Regions from separate parts of the Homo sapiens genome. Here region 2 is linked to region 1. Evidence: promoter capture Hi-C in human tissues and cell types (Jung and others, 2019). All regions are on one chromosome and are shown on one strand. Each heading gives the region's core, a stretch centred on a gene start or on the middle of the fragment in contact. The rest is flanking DNA. Distances are from core to core; before and after follow the strand shown.

Evidence for each region. Contacts are between HindIII fragments. The study calls those that stand out against the background at their distance.
Region 2: a fragment that was not itself captured here is called in contact with the fragment with the promoter of THY1 in region 1 in 1 of the 25 tissues and cell types used here (hippocampus).

The regions. Positions count from the first base shown.
Region 1 is chr11:119,420,725-119,427,613 of GRCh38, reverse strand. THY1 (Thy-1 cell surface antigen) reads left to right here and starts at 4,442. Exons shown (of 4, transcript NM_006288.5): 1 at 4,442-4,501; 2 at 6,685-6,745. The coding sequence starts at 6,709. The region is part of intron 2 of USP2-AS1 (USP2 antisense RNA 1); the gene reads right to left. RefSeq lists enhancers at 4,564-5,129, 5,130-5,696. The HindIII fragment of the contact is 13,176 bases long and covers 1,018-6,889 here.
Region 2 is chr11:119,271,002-119,277,890 of GRCh38, reverse strand. It overlaps CBL (Cbl proto-oncogene), which reads right to left. Exons shown (of 16, transcript NM_005188.4): 3 at 6,010-6,156; 4 at 3,867-4,023; 5 at 2,938-3,059; 6 at 1,757-1,894; 7 at 47-134. Among named protein-coding and RNA genes, the nearest start is that of MIR6756, 39 kb to the left of the region's middle. The HindIII fragment of the contact is 4,298 bases long and covers 1,166-5,463 here.

The sequences.
Region 1 (6,889 bases), core at 3,193-5,692:
CAGATCCCAAATGGTGATTGATGTAAACTGAGATAGTTCAGACTCCCTCAAGTGGCAACTGAACTCCAAAAAAGCAAGCTCCAACGTACAAACATTTCACAAGCTTCTGCTTTCATCACATTTGCTGATGGCCCATTGGCCAAAGCAAGGCACGTGGCCAAGCCCAGAATCAGCACGGAAGGGATTACACAAAAGCATGGACACCGGGCGGGGGGGGGCATGACTCACTGGAGGCCATTGATGTGACAGTCTACCATACCTGGGCAACTCCCATTTATCTTTAAAAGCTCAGTTCATGCCTGGCCTCCAAGAAGCCCTCTCTGACAGATTGGGTCATCACCTGTCCCTCCTCTGGACTCCCACAGTACCCTTTACACGTCTCTACCTCTGTGTCTACCCTCTTTTTTCTAATTATCTATGTATCATTTCTGTTTCCCCCATTGGAACAAGCCTTTGAGATGGTGTTCTACTAATCTTTGTATACCTAGCGTCTAGCCCCGTGCCTTGGAACATTATTGGTACCAATAATGTCTTAATTATTTGGTCAATTAAACCATCCATGAATAAAGTTTTTAAAATAACTATCAAAGATTAAAGTGTCTCCATTGGTGCCTTCTCTCAACTTCTGCCCTGCATTCCAAGAAATAATGTTTAGTTTGTATTTGTCACATTCTCCAACCAAATATGCAGTTCTTCAGGGAGCTGACCTTGCTCAGGAAGTTGACCTCGACTAGAGGTTAGGAGAGGTAGCGGAGTGTAGAGCAGCAGTTCCAAGATATTTTAATTTCATAGACTTAGTCACATTTCCAAAGAAGTGTGAGGGTTAACAGGAAGTTACCAATTTTCTTTTTTTTATATATAAAGTAGGACATTAAAAACCACACATACACACATATCAATACCACCATCTCTTCAGAAAAATGGAAAGGTATAACCTTAGAATGAAAGTATAGGAAAGGCAGGTGTATAGTCTCAATTAGTCAAAGATTAGAGCTCAGTATTATGGCTGCCTTGATATCAGGGAGACCTCAAATGGCCTAATTACAAGATCCCCTCCCTACTTTGCTGATGAGGTCCCCCAGCCAAACCACCCTCCTTATTGTGGGGGCCAGGCACAATTTCTGCTTAACCCTGAGTACTGGGCTTCAGCACCCTGCCAGCCCACAGAATTATGCAAACAGCCAATCACATTCTCTTACAGGAAACGGGGGCATTCCACCGTTTTGACATTACAAAGCCTGCCTCCCACAGCTCCTGGTAATACCTGTTTCTGAGTGCAACTCCCATGAAGCAGTTCATGGCGTGCAGTGTTATCCTCCCAGGTATGAGCATATGTGACTAATAAACTGCTATTGCTCTCATTCGTCCAGTGTTGAGGTCATGTGATCCCCCTAACTTTAGGGGATGGGAATCTCTCCCTCATCAACAGGGTGAAGAACATAAAATCAAAACAAGGTGATAACCTGACAGCTATGTTCAGAGTACCCCGGACTGTCCTCGTTTTACTTATTTCACCGTGAACCAGGGAAATGAGTCTAGCAGAGATCTGAGGGTCCGCCCTGGGAGCACTGGAGAGCACAGTGGGAACATGGAGTCAGGAGACTTAAGATCTAATAGTCCAGACCATGCTTCAAAATATTTGTCTGACCTTGACAAATCATTACCTTTCTCGGGCCTCAAGTCCCAGCTATAAAATAGTGGGGCAAGCCAGGTGCAGTGGCTCCCACCTGTAATCCCAGCATTTTGAGAGGCCAGGCGGGAGGATTACTTGAGCCCAGGAGTTCAAGATCAGCCTGGGCAACATGGTGAGATCCCATCTCTACAAAAAAAAAAAAAAAAAATTAATTAGCTGGGCATAGTGTCAAGTGCCTATTGTCCCAGCTACTCAGGAGGCTGAGGTAGGAGGATCACTTGAGCCCAGGAGGTCAAAGCTTCAGTGAGTGGTGATTGCACCACTGCACTCTAGCCTAGGCAACAGAGTGAGACCCTGGCTCAAAAATAAAATAAAATAAAATTTAAAAGATGGGACCACTGTAGTCACCTCTGTGATTCTAGAAAGACAATCTGATGAAATGAGGGAATGGCTGGCAGTCCCTAGGTCATGCTAAAGGACTGTGTGTTTTTAGAAGAGTTTTTATCCCCATATGTTTCTGGGTGGGAAAACAGGAGATGGTGGGAAAAGAGAGATCTAAGAGACCAACAGGGCAGCCGCAGTCTTCTGGCAGGAAGTCTTGCCTTAGCTGGATTCCTCTAAAGCCTTGCTGGTTTCAGCACTCCGATCCTATCCACAGTAAATGGAGTTTTAAAATCTCCTCCCTCCACCACCTTGTGCTCTATCCCCTGACCTCAGATGTCTAATCAGAGCCATTAATTCCATCCAATCAGAGATCTTGCTTGGCAGACACAGAATTGCCACACCTTCTACAGTCTATACTCCCCTCCCCTGCCTAAAAGCAAGGTGCTTGGGGACCCAGAAATTAGGCCAGGTCCTCATAACCTTATCAAAATAGCACTGCTAGGCCTTCCACCCAGCAACACTCAGAGACAGGGCCAAAGAGTGGGAAACGGAGCATCCAGGGCCTCAGCCAGCAGAGCCCAGATGCCTTCTGCAGTTAAGATCCCTGGACTCAGAATCAGAAAGCTGTTAAGCAGGAAGGAGTGCGCTGCCATGAAGAGGCAGACAGAAGCCAGAGCCAGTGTGTCTGGAATGCATCAGGTAGATGAATGGGAAGATGGCTGGGATGGAGTTGGAGGGAGGAGGGAAGTCAGCAGCCAGGGGCCAGGACATTCATGGCCTTAAAAAGTATCCTACAAACAAGAAGCCAGGTTAGCTCACCTATGAAGAGGGACAGTCTTACCAGATCATGTGTTAGAGTCCCCAGATCCTGGGGAGCGTGAGAAAAGTGCAGACTCAGCTGGCTCTAGTACTAGATTAAGGAGGTCCTAGGTGGGCAAGGCCAGCTGCATTTTTCATAAAATGCCCTAGAAACCTCTGCAGTTTACCAAAGTGAATAGCTCCTTTGGACTTAACCATCTGCAAGGCTCATTCCAGTTAGAGTGTTCCATCACCCTAAATGCTGGGAAACCAAGCGAATCTCCTCCCACTTGCAAGCTTCCAACAGTGGCTTCCAACAGTGCCACTGCAGTATCAGAAACTGCAGGGAAGGTGCCAGGGCTGACTTCCATGAAGAAATAGGAGAACAGGCAGGCAGACATTGGGGAGGCCCACAGAATGTCGTGATCAGAATTCATAAAGAGGCTGGCAGGATACAAATCAATCAAATAAACGTTAGTTCAAAAAAATTCACTACACCTGTGAGTGAGAGAAAGTCATCAGCACTGTCTCTAAAAATGAGCCTAGGGCTTCTGGTGACATCCAATCGGTGGGTTATCAGGAGTGCCCCAGGTGATCAGGAGTTGGCCTCGACTCAGTCCTTTTTGTGCTGTCTCCTCCTCTTTCCCAGAGTTCCTCTCTCTCTTCTCCCACTAGGCAGGGATGAGCAAGAGGAATGGCTCACCCTTGAGAGCTGGGGTCCATAGCCCAGGTCAGTTCTCCAGCTCTCCCACTTACCAGCCAAGACAGGAGGTGAGGATTGAGATGGGATGAACCCAGCAGGCGGCCATGGGTTAAAGGTCGCCATGAATGTAATGTGCCCAGCACAGTGCCTGCTAAAAGGCAACACTCCCTTCCTGGTCTGAAGACCAAACAAGCAGACTGTACTCAGGAAAGCCAGAAGAACCTTCCAGCTGTCTGGACCAGAAGGTGCCAGCCCAGGGGCTGAAGAAGACGTAATGCCCAGAGCAAAAAGCGCCTGCAGCCCCCTGAAGGGCTGGGTGCTCTGGAATAGATGAGGGGGCGAAATGGGGCTGGGGACCAGGGACGGACAGGGTGGGTCCAGCACCTGCCTCGCTTCCGAAGGGCTGCTCCAACACTGAAAAACACCCAACCAGCTTCCTTTCAGAAAGACTGGAATATTCCAAAACTTCTCACTGGAGGCTCCGGAGGAGGTGGGCTCCAGCTGAAAAGGAAATGTGGAGGCGTGGGCGCTCCCGGCCTGCATCCTGCACCTCTTACACTTTGGTTTTCCCACAGACTCCTGAAGAATAGGTCAGAAGAAAGGGTTAAAGCCTTAAAAGGGGAACAACCATTGCGGGGCTCAGGGAGGAGGATAATGTTCTTTGGGCTGCCGCACCCTGATCCCCGGGGTCCCGAACCCTCCCGTCCCTGGCCAGGCCTGCCAGCCACAGGGTGAGGGCCCCCTTCCGCCGCAACCTGCCACTCTCACACCAATGCGGGACCGCCTTCTCTTCCTTCCCCACCCCCCACCCCACCCTGCCGTCCTTTCTCCCCCAATCTCCGCCTCTGATTGGCTGAGCCCCCGGCTCCCCGCTCCCCCTCTCCTCCATCCCCGGTGAAAACTGCGGGCTCCGAGCTGGGTGCAGCAACCGGAGGCGGCGGCGCGTCTGGAGGAGGCTGCAGCAGCGGAAGACCCCAGTCCAGGTGGGAACTGGAGCCGGTGGGACCTGGGGCTCGGGGACCGCCGTCAGGCGCCCATGCAAGACTTCCCAACACTAGGCTTCGGGCCACGGTCCGAGGGCGCCCAGGGAAGAAGGGCGCAGAGCTTAGGGAGGGGCCTGCTTTCCAGGCAGGGGCGGGAGGGGGATGCTTCTGCAGGGCAGGGGCCGCGTGGCACCCTGATGTCTTTCGGGGAAGGCGCTCCCGGGCTTTCGCCCGCTGGGGGACTGGTGTCTGGGGCTGGGGCGCTGGAGAACAGGGAGGAAGGGCACCAAGGACAGCCTGTGGGTCTACATTCCACCCAGACGTCCCCAAACCCAGCTCGCAGAGGCGGGGAGGAGGACGGATGAAACTGCGGGGAGAGGATGGAGGATGGCGAGCTAGAGGGAATCTGCCGGGTGACCTCGCGGCGGGCTGGGTGCGGGGCACCGGAGGAGAAGGAAGCCGCAGTGCCGCAGGCGGGGACTGGGTGGAAGGCGGGCGGACGGGGGAGGGGAGAGCTGGAAAAGGATGAGAGAGGGGGAAGGGGGACTCATTTGGGAAAGGAGAGGATTGGAATACGGAAATGGATTAAGGATGAGGCCCGCCGGGGGCTTGAGAGGGAGGAAGAGCAGACCTTCTCTGGGTCTGGAGCCGCCTGAGGACACAGACCAGAGGAAATGAATACAGACTGCACCTCCCCAGCCGCTCTCCACCCCTCCCCTGGCTCTTCTACCCTCTCCAGCCCCAGACCCATTTCTTCCCTTTCTTGCTCTGGCCATTGCTCCCCCTTCCCCTCCTAGATCCCAAGCCCGCACAACATCTCAAACAAGAGTCCTCGATTCAAAAGCCAGATGCCGACCCCCCTTCCTCCTGGATCTGGCTCAGGGCAGCAGCTCCACCCCGGGACAGAGAGAGCATTGATTGTAGCTGCAGCCGCCGCGGGATCCTAGCCTCACCCGTCAAGGGGCTGAGCGCCAGGGACCCTGAACTCGTCTAGTGGTGCGCCCTGCGCACCCGGGCGCACTCAACCGAGGCAATGCCCTGCGCGCTCTCGCGGGTGCACGCCCCTTCTGTGGCCTCTCCTGGGCGAGCACTGCTCTGCAGATAGGCTAGACTACCGGCTCCGCGTCGCCTCGCCAAGGGTTGGTTCAGCCAAGGCTGCAAAAAACAAAAAAAGACCAGGCAGACAGCCTATCCAGGGTGGCTATTGAAACTGGGCTGGAAAACTGCAGTCCCAGGAACTCCAGAGAGCTGGACATTGGGAAGCATCCTTGGCTCACATACAATCGGAGATCACTATGTCTTTCTCTCCTCCAGGAACACGATTAGCTTGTGTCCTATCCAGATAGGAATAGATGCTCCCTATCTGGGAGCATCCTTAGCTATGGTGAATGGTATCTAGCCATCCACTGGGGATGGCGAGTGACTTAGGGATTTGTGTCTCACGTATATGAAGCAGTCATCGCCAGATGTTGGTTGTTTTTCTTAACCCCCATCATAACCCGGTGGGTATGTAAGATTCAGAGAGATTCATTCATTCATTCACAATAAATATCTTTGGAGTGTATGCTATATGCCAGTAATCTGCAAACGGAAACGGTTTTGAGCATTGGGGATTTTCTTCTGAACAGGAAATGGGAAGTCCCTAAATGGGGAGTCTTTGTTTAACAGATACAGAGTTTTACTTTGAAAGACAAAAAGAGTTCCGGAGATGGGCTGCATAGCAACGTGAATGTATCCAGCACTGCTGAATATACTGAATTTAAGTACTGAATTTAAATGGTTAAAATAGTAATTATTATGCTTTTTGTATTTTACCACGATTAAATTTTTTTTTTAAATACGAAGCCTCAGCCCTCATAGGTCTTATATTACCATACACTATGTTAATGTAAGAAGAGGAGAAAGAGTGGTAAAGTTACTTAAAGTCACCCAGCTAGTAAGTGCTCCATGGCCAAGCGCAGAAACACACCGTGACTGGGCTTGTTCTCCCTCCTTCCTTGCTTTCCCTGAGCAGGAAAGAGCCAGTGGCAGTATCATGTTCAGTGAGATGCAGGGACGAGAGGGGGAATGGAGAGAGGGACTTAGATGACTGCCATAGCCACTATGCCATGTTCCCAGGGACCCCCAGCCCTGGTGGTAAGTGTGGCACAGCTTGGCTGATTCCCATCCTGTTCCCACCCCAGATCCAGGACTGAGATCCCAGAACCATGAACCTGGCCATCAGCATCGCTCTCCTGCTAACAGGTACCCGGCATGGGGCAGGACTGGGGCTCCAGGCGCCCTGGCTTCCTTCCCTCCAGAGAAGCAGCTTCTCCCTCACAGTCTCAGAAAAGCGCAGGTGACAAAGAGAGGGCTCTTTTTCATCCTGAAGTCAGCCAATCCACCGCG
Region 2 (6,889 bases), core at 2,065-4,564, 150 kb after region 1:
AAAGCTTGTGTCCAGTGATATGGTTATCATGTGAAACAAAACTCACCTGGGTCACTTTGATATGGTCTTGGGGAGTTGGTTCACATAAGCCAGTCAGATCAGGATTCTGATTTCGTCCATCAGGAAACAAATAGCTGTAAAGAGTAACCAACCCTGGGTTTTATTTAAGCCAATTTGCCAGTGCTTGCTAATATAGACAAATGGAATCTGGGAGTTTCTCCATTCTAAAAGGGCAACGTGGTGTAAGTATAAAGATCAATCTTACTTCAAAAAAAAAATACTTCCAAAAAATAATACTTCAAAAAAATAAAAAACACAGAACAGTTTAAAGATATTCTCCAAAAACTATTATTCCTTCTCCAGGTAACAATGCCATAGGCTCTATCTTTTAATCAAGGGGTTGGTTAGCAAGCTTTTCTGTAAAGGGCCAGATAGAAAATCATTTAGGATTTGTAGGCCACATTAGTCTGTGTCACATATTCTTCTCTGATTGTTTTTTTCAAAACGACTCTTAGGAAAAGCTATCTTGGCTCCCCGGGGGAACAAACAGGTGGCCCATGGGTCACAGTTTACCAACCCATTTTTAATCAATGGATGGCCACCAGATAGAAATTCTTTATGTGTGTGTGTGTGTGTGTGTGTGTGTGTGCGCGACAGATTCTTATTTTTTTTTTGAGGTTGCAGTGAGTGATCTTGGCTCACTGAAACCTCCGCCTCCTGGATTCAAGTGATTCTCCTGCCTCAGCCTCCCAAGTAGCTGGGATTACAGGCACCCACCACCACGTCCGGCTAACTTTTTGTACTTTTAGTACAGACAGGGTTTTGCCATGTTGGCCAGGCTGGTCTTGAACTCCTGACCTCAGGTGATCCACCCGTCTCGGCCTCCCAAAGTGCTGGGATCACAGGTGTGAACCACTGCACCCGGCTTAACTTCTTAGTTTAAACTGCATTTGCTTTTGATCAAAGAAGGTTTACAGGTTTAAGAAAATGAGAGACACCAATTTAAAAGCAATGTAACAATATGCAAATTAAGCTACTGAGATCATCTACCAGGGAGATCCACAGTTTCTAGCATCAAACTGTTCTGACATTTGGGGCAGCACTCCTTTCAGTCCCAATGCTATTGTAAGTAAAAGATAATGTATAATATAAAATGTATTTTCCTAATCACTTCAAAACACAAGCTAGTTTTCTGCCATCTGGTCAACTGTTAGTATTTTTAAGTGTTTACCAACTGATAATTAATTTGAATTCTCAAAGGAATAGCAATTCTGGAATAAATAAGGACTTAGTTATAAATAGCAGCATAGGTTACAGTAGCCCAAGGCCTGAAGAAATGCTGCTGAACAAAAGCGAAGTGAGGATGAAAGCAGATGAAGGCCACTGAGGCCTATGGCTATTAGGAACATTGAATCACTTGAATGCCGACTAGTTAAATAACTGGTCAAATTTCCTGCTAATTGGTATATTTTAAAACCTAACACAGGCTTGAAAATAAGTTAACATTTGGAAAAAAGAAAGATAAAGTTTATTTATGGTAATAACTGAAGTGGTAGAGAATAATTTCACTCATGGAATCCCTAAAAAAGAAAAACAAAAGTCTTCCAGGACCTGAAGGTCAAATCAATATCATCTGTTAATATTTTCCTGAATCTTAGTCTGCAGTTTAAGAAACCTGGAATAAAGTCATTAATGATGAGGTTGGACAGCCCCTAAGTTCCCAGACTCTAACAGATGGTATGCAGTAGGTACTCACAAGCCTTCCCTGAAGCCATCAATCAGTGCTTGGAAGAGAGGTTTATTGTGAGGGATTGTCTGGAGAATGTTCCCATCAGCAGTAACATACCCAATAGCCCACTGACCCAGACGAGTACAGCTCAGCCGGAAGATATAACTATGAACAGACATAAACAGAAGCTTTAGTAGATTATGCTGGTATTACGGTGGAAGGCAAGGCAAGATACAGACAAAAATCAAAAGAACCATCAAGAATAACAATAACTTTCTTCCTTTCTTTCTTTCTTTTTTTAAGATGGAGTCTGGCTCTGTCACCCAGGCTAGAGTGCAGTGGCACAATCTCAGCTCACTGCAGCCTCCACCTCCTGGGTTCAAATGATTCTCCTGCCTCAGCCTCCTGAGTAGCTGGGACTACAGTATGTGCCACCACACCTGGCTAATTTTTGTATTTTTAGTAGAGATGGGGTTTCGCCATGTTGGCCAGGCCAGTCTTAAACTTCTGATCTCAAGTATCTGCCCACCTTGGCCTCCCAAAGTGCTGGGATTACAGGTGTGAGCCACCACACCCAGCCAAGAATAACTACTTCTGAGCTTCAAGTCAGTGACAAGAAAAAAGAAAGAAAATATTTTTAAAAAGAGAGTAACTTCTTCCATGACTCCACACCAGAAGCAAAAGACACATAAACTCTATTCTTTTTTTGTTTTTGTTGTTTTTGAGATGGGGTTTCGCTCTTATTGCCCAGGCTAGAGTGCAATGACATGATCTCGGCTCACTGCAACCTCCACCTCCCAGGTTCAAGTGATTCTCCTGCCTCAGCCTCCTGAGTAGCTGGGATTACAGGCACCCGCACCACACCTGGATAATTTTTGTATTTTTAGTAGAGACAGGGTTTTACCACTTTGGCCAGGCTGGTCTCAAACTCCTGACCTCGTGATCTGCCCGCCTCGGCCTCCCAAAGTGCTGGGATGACAGGCGTGAGCCACTGTGCCCGGCCATAAATTCAATTCTTAAGTGGCCTGAAAACATTTATCAAATTATAGGATCTGAATTAAGTCAATACGTCTGATAAACAGGTATCAATCCTATTGCAGAACCTTGGCTATTGCGAAACTAATTAAGGTCATGTTTCTTCTATACTAGCAGAAGTCTCAAGATAACGAAATTCAGAAGAATAAATCTCTTTGCGTCATTGAACTGACCTGCCAGGTTTGTGAATGAATTTCTGGAGCCGAGCTTTCACTTCGTCATACGTCAAAAAAGCCATGTAGCCAGGATGAGTTACAGCAAGGCTGTTCCAATTCCTGAGCAAAGAGGACCAGGGCTAAAGAAACAAGATCAATCACAGACTATTCAGGTCAGATGTACAACCAACTCAGAGGGCAATGAGAAAAAAAAAAAACAACACCAACTCTCAGTTCATTGTCAGAAATTTTTAATTATACCATCACTCAGAGAGAAGACACATGTGTTCAGGAGATTAAAAACTCTGAAAAGCTACGAAGAAAAGAATATATGCTTATAGGGAGAAACTTGACACAAAATGAAAATTCTAGAATTTGTAAAGCAGCTCTAATTAACAGTAGTGGGGTTGAACAACAACAAACTGAAAACCAGGATAGGGCCTATAGGTGCAACTAATAAGTTCCAAATAAATGTGTATGCAAATTGGCACAGACAACACCAGAGAAAGCATTATTTTTAGAGAAAAAGAAAGGAGTTGTTTTTGAAGCATCTAAACATCTCAATATTAACAGTCAATTTCAATAAAACAGGAGAAACAGTTGCAAACATACACAAATATCCAATATCAGAAAACTAATATATTCATATTCTGGCCATTCTACAAACATTAAAATGATACAAAAGAAGAATATTCAATAACAAGGAAAGATGTGAGGAGAAGAAAGCAGTTGGTATAGCTGTCATTTTCACTATATATACATACACACACATACATATATTTTTAATATGAGATAGTTTTAATCTTTTTTTTGGCATAGTTCCTAAAATGAATTAAAATACTTTCATACAGACAAAAACCCCAAATGTTATTTAAAAAAAAAAAAAAAAAGCTTTCTCTTCACCGAAGTAGCAGTAACCAGTTTAGTCAACTTTTTTAGTGTCCTACCTGAAAGAGTCGGGTAAAGATGTCAAATTCAAAAACCGAAATATAATCATTGCAGGTCAGATCAATAGTGGATTTCAGAGCCATGGCCTCCAGCCCAGAACTGATGGGATGCACTTCATGTAGAGCCTGTCGAAAGCTCTTCCAAGGGACTATTGTCCTGGGGAGGGGGTGGAGAGGAGGCATAAAGTGAAATAACAGAGATAATTCCAGGCATCGCCATAATCAAGGAAAGGAAGGAGAGCCACATTAAGCTCTCAATACCAATTTCAATTCTCGTAATTCAAAATACAGGTCAACTTCTTTAAGAAAAGAAAGAAGGGGACCAGGAGCCATGGTGCATGCCTTTGGGAGGCCCAGCACTTTGAGAGGCCAAAGTGGGCAGACTGCTTGAGCCCAGACTGGGCAATATGGTGAAACTTTGTCTCTACAAAAACAAACAAACAAACAAAATTAGCCAGACTAATTAGTTCCAGCTACTCTGGAGGCTGAGGGGGGAAAATCACTTGAACTTTGGAGGCAGAGGTTGCAAGTGAGATCGTGCCACTGCACTACAGCCTGGGCAACAGAGTGAAACCTTGCTGCAAAACAAGAAAAGAAAAATAAAAAATAATTTACAAATAAAGACCAGGTCTTGTAATGTCATCCAGGGTAGTAGTCTCAAACTTCTGGCCTCAAGAAATCCTCCTGCCTTGGCCACCTAAAGTGCTGGGACTACAGGAGTGAGCCACTGTGCCTGGCCAAAAATGAAGGCCTTTAAAGAGAAACTTGGGCCTAACACAGTGGCTCACGCTTGTAATCCTAGTACTTTGAGAGGCCAGGGGGAAAGATTATTTGAGGCCAGGACTTCGAGACCAGCCTGGGTAACACAGCAAAATCCTGTCTCTGCAAATTAGCTGGGCCTGGCAGCACACACGTGTAGTCCCAGCTACTTGGGAGAACTGCTTGAATCCAAGAGTTTGAGGCTGCGATGAGCTATGATTGATTGTACCACTGCACACCAGACTAGGCAAGAGAGTGACATCCTGTCTCAAAAAAAAAAAAAAATAAAACGACAAAACCTAGGATATTTATATTTATACTTAAAAATACAAGCTTGATGCATAAATCAACCTATATAATATATAGAGAGACAATACAGCAAAACGGAAAAGGTAAGCCACAGACTGGGAGAAGATATTTGTAATGTAAGTATCTAACAAAGAACTAGTAACCTATAATAACAGAAAGATAAACCACTCAATAAGAAAATGGGTAAATCAGAAATAGGAACAGGCAAGTAAGAATAAGAATCTTGACTGGTCATAAAGGTGAGAAGAAGCTCAATCTCCCTTCTCATCAGGGAATATAAAGCAAAATATTACACCAATTCACATCGCCAGCGTTAGCCAAACTGTGGGGCTACTGTAAAATATGAACTGGTACACCATTTTGGAAAGAAATTGGACAATACTTAGCAAAGCAAAAGATGTAAAACCCCAAGACTTAGCAATTCCACTCCTGCGTATGTAAATAAAGACAATTTCTTGCATATGAAGACAACTTAGATATTGCTCACTGCTGATAGCAAATAATGTGAAATGTACATGTCCATTAAGAGCAGAATGGGGCTGGGCATGGTGGCTCACGCCTGTAATCCCAGCACTTTGGGATGCCGAAGCAGGTGGATCACGAGGTCAGAAGTCGAGACCATCCTGGCTGACGTGGTGAAACCCTGTCTCTATTAAAAATGCAAAAAATTAGCCGGGCGTGGTGGCAGGCACCTATAGTCCCAGCGACTCAGGAGGCTGAGGCAGGAGAATGGCATGAACCCAGGAGGCAGAGCTTGCAGTAAGTGGAGATCGCACCACTGCACTCCAGCCTGGGCAACAGAGCAAGACTCCGTCTCAAAAAGAAACCACAATGGATGGGGAGAGAAAGGGAAGAGTATTCAAAGAGCATGGGTTTCAATTTAATCTGCAAAACTATTTTTTAAAAACAATGAACAGAGCAAAAACTTAATATTTAACCAAAGCCAGGAAATACATACACATATATTACTTTTCTCAGAGTTCCCAAATTTTAAATATTTCATTAGTAAAAAAGTAAAGAAAAAACTCGTAAGCTTTAGTTTTTCATAGTTCAAATTCATTATTCTGAGACTTACTTTTCCCCAAAAGCTTTTCTCCAAAATTCCGCAGCATCTGCTTTAGTAATCCGAAATGTGTCTCCCTGAAAGAGTCCACTTGGAAAGATTCCTTTTAGTTCTGCCAGCATGTGGCTGAAGATGAGGGACAGTTTGGTTAGGTTTCGCCTACAAATGATCAGAATGCAATAATTAAACACATAAAATTATTTTTATTTTAAATGCACCAAATTCACCATACAAGATGTATAATTAACATGAATATTAAAATACATTTAGAAAGAACCTCTTCAAATATTCTTTCTGGCCAGTATTATTCAAGGATATAAAAAAGTAGAGAAGAGAAAAGAAATGCGCTGTTGAGGATGTTACATATTCAGTGATCTTGTTCTTTATTTAAAGAAGGGTTTTAGAAACTTTTTGCTGTAAGATCATATGAAAGATACAAACACAATGAAGAAATACTGTTGCATTCACTGCCTCCACTTGTATCTCCTCCATTCAAATAGATATTATGAAGTAAACAAGAGAAAAAATTTAGTCATATATCTTAAAGCTTTTAATCTTGAATTAATAAAGCTTAATAGCTAAGCATGAACATGGACAAATTTACTTTTTTAGGATGACAGGTAAGAGAATTCAACAAATAAGTGTAAGAACTTATGCACTGCTATAATCACTCTATCACGGAAGAAAAAATGTTAGGAAACCAATGTATTATTTCCTGCTTTGCAGGTGTATTTATCAAGTATATTTATCATCATATAACATATCTAAATAAAAGATAAATAAGTCTTAATTAAAAGAATTTTTAAGTATCCAGACCTAATAAATGCTTTCTTTCACTGAACCAGACCTTAAAGAGATAAATTTTACCCAAACTCCTCTTCCTTTACCAAAA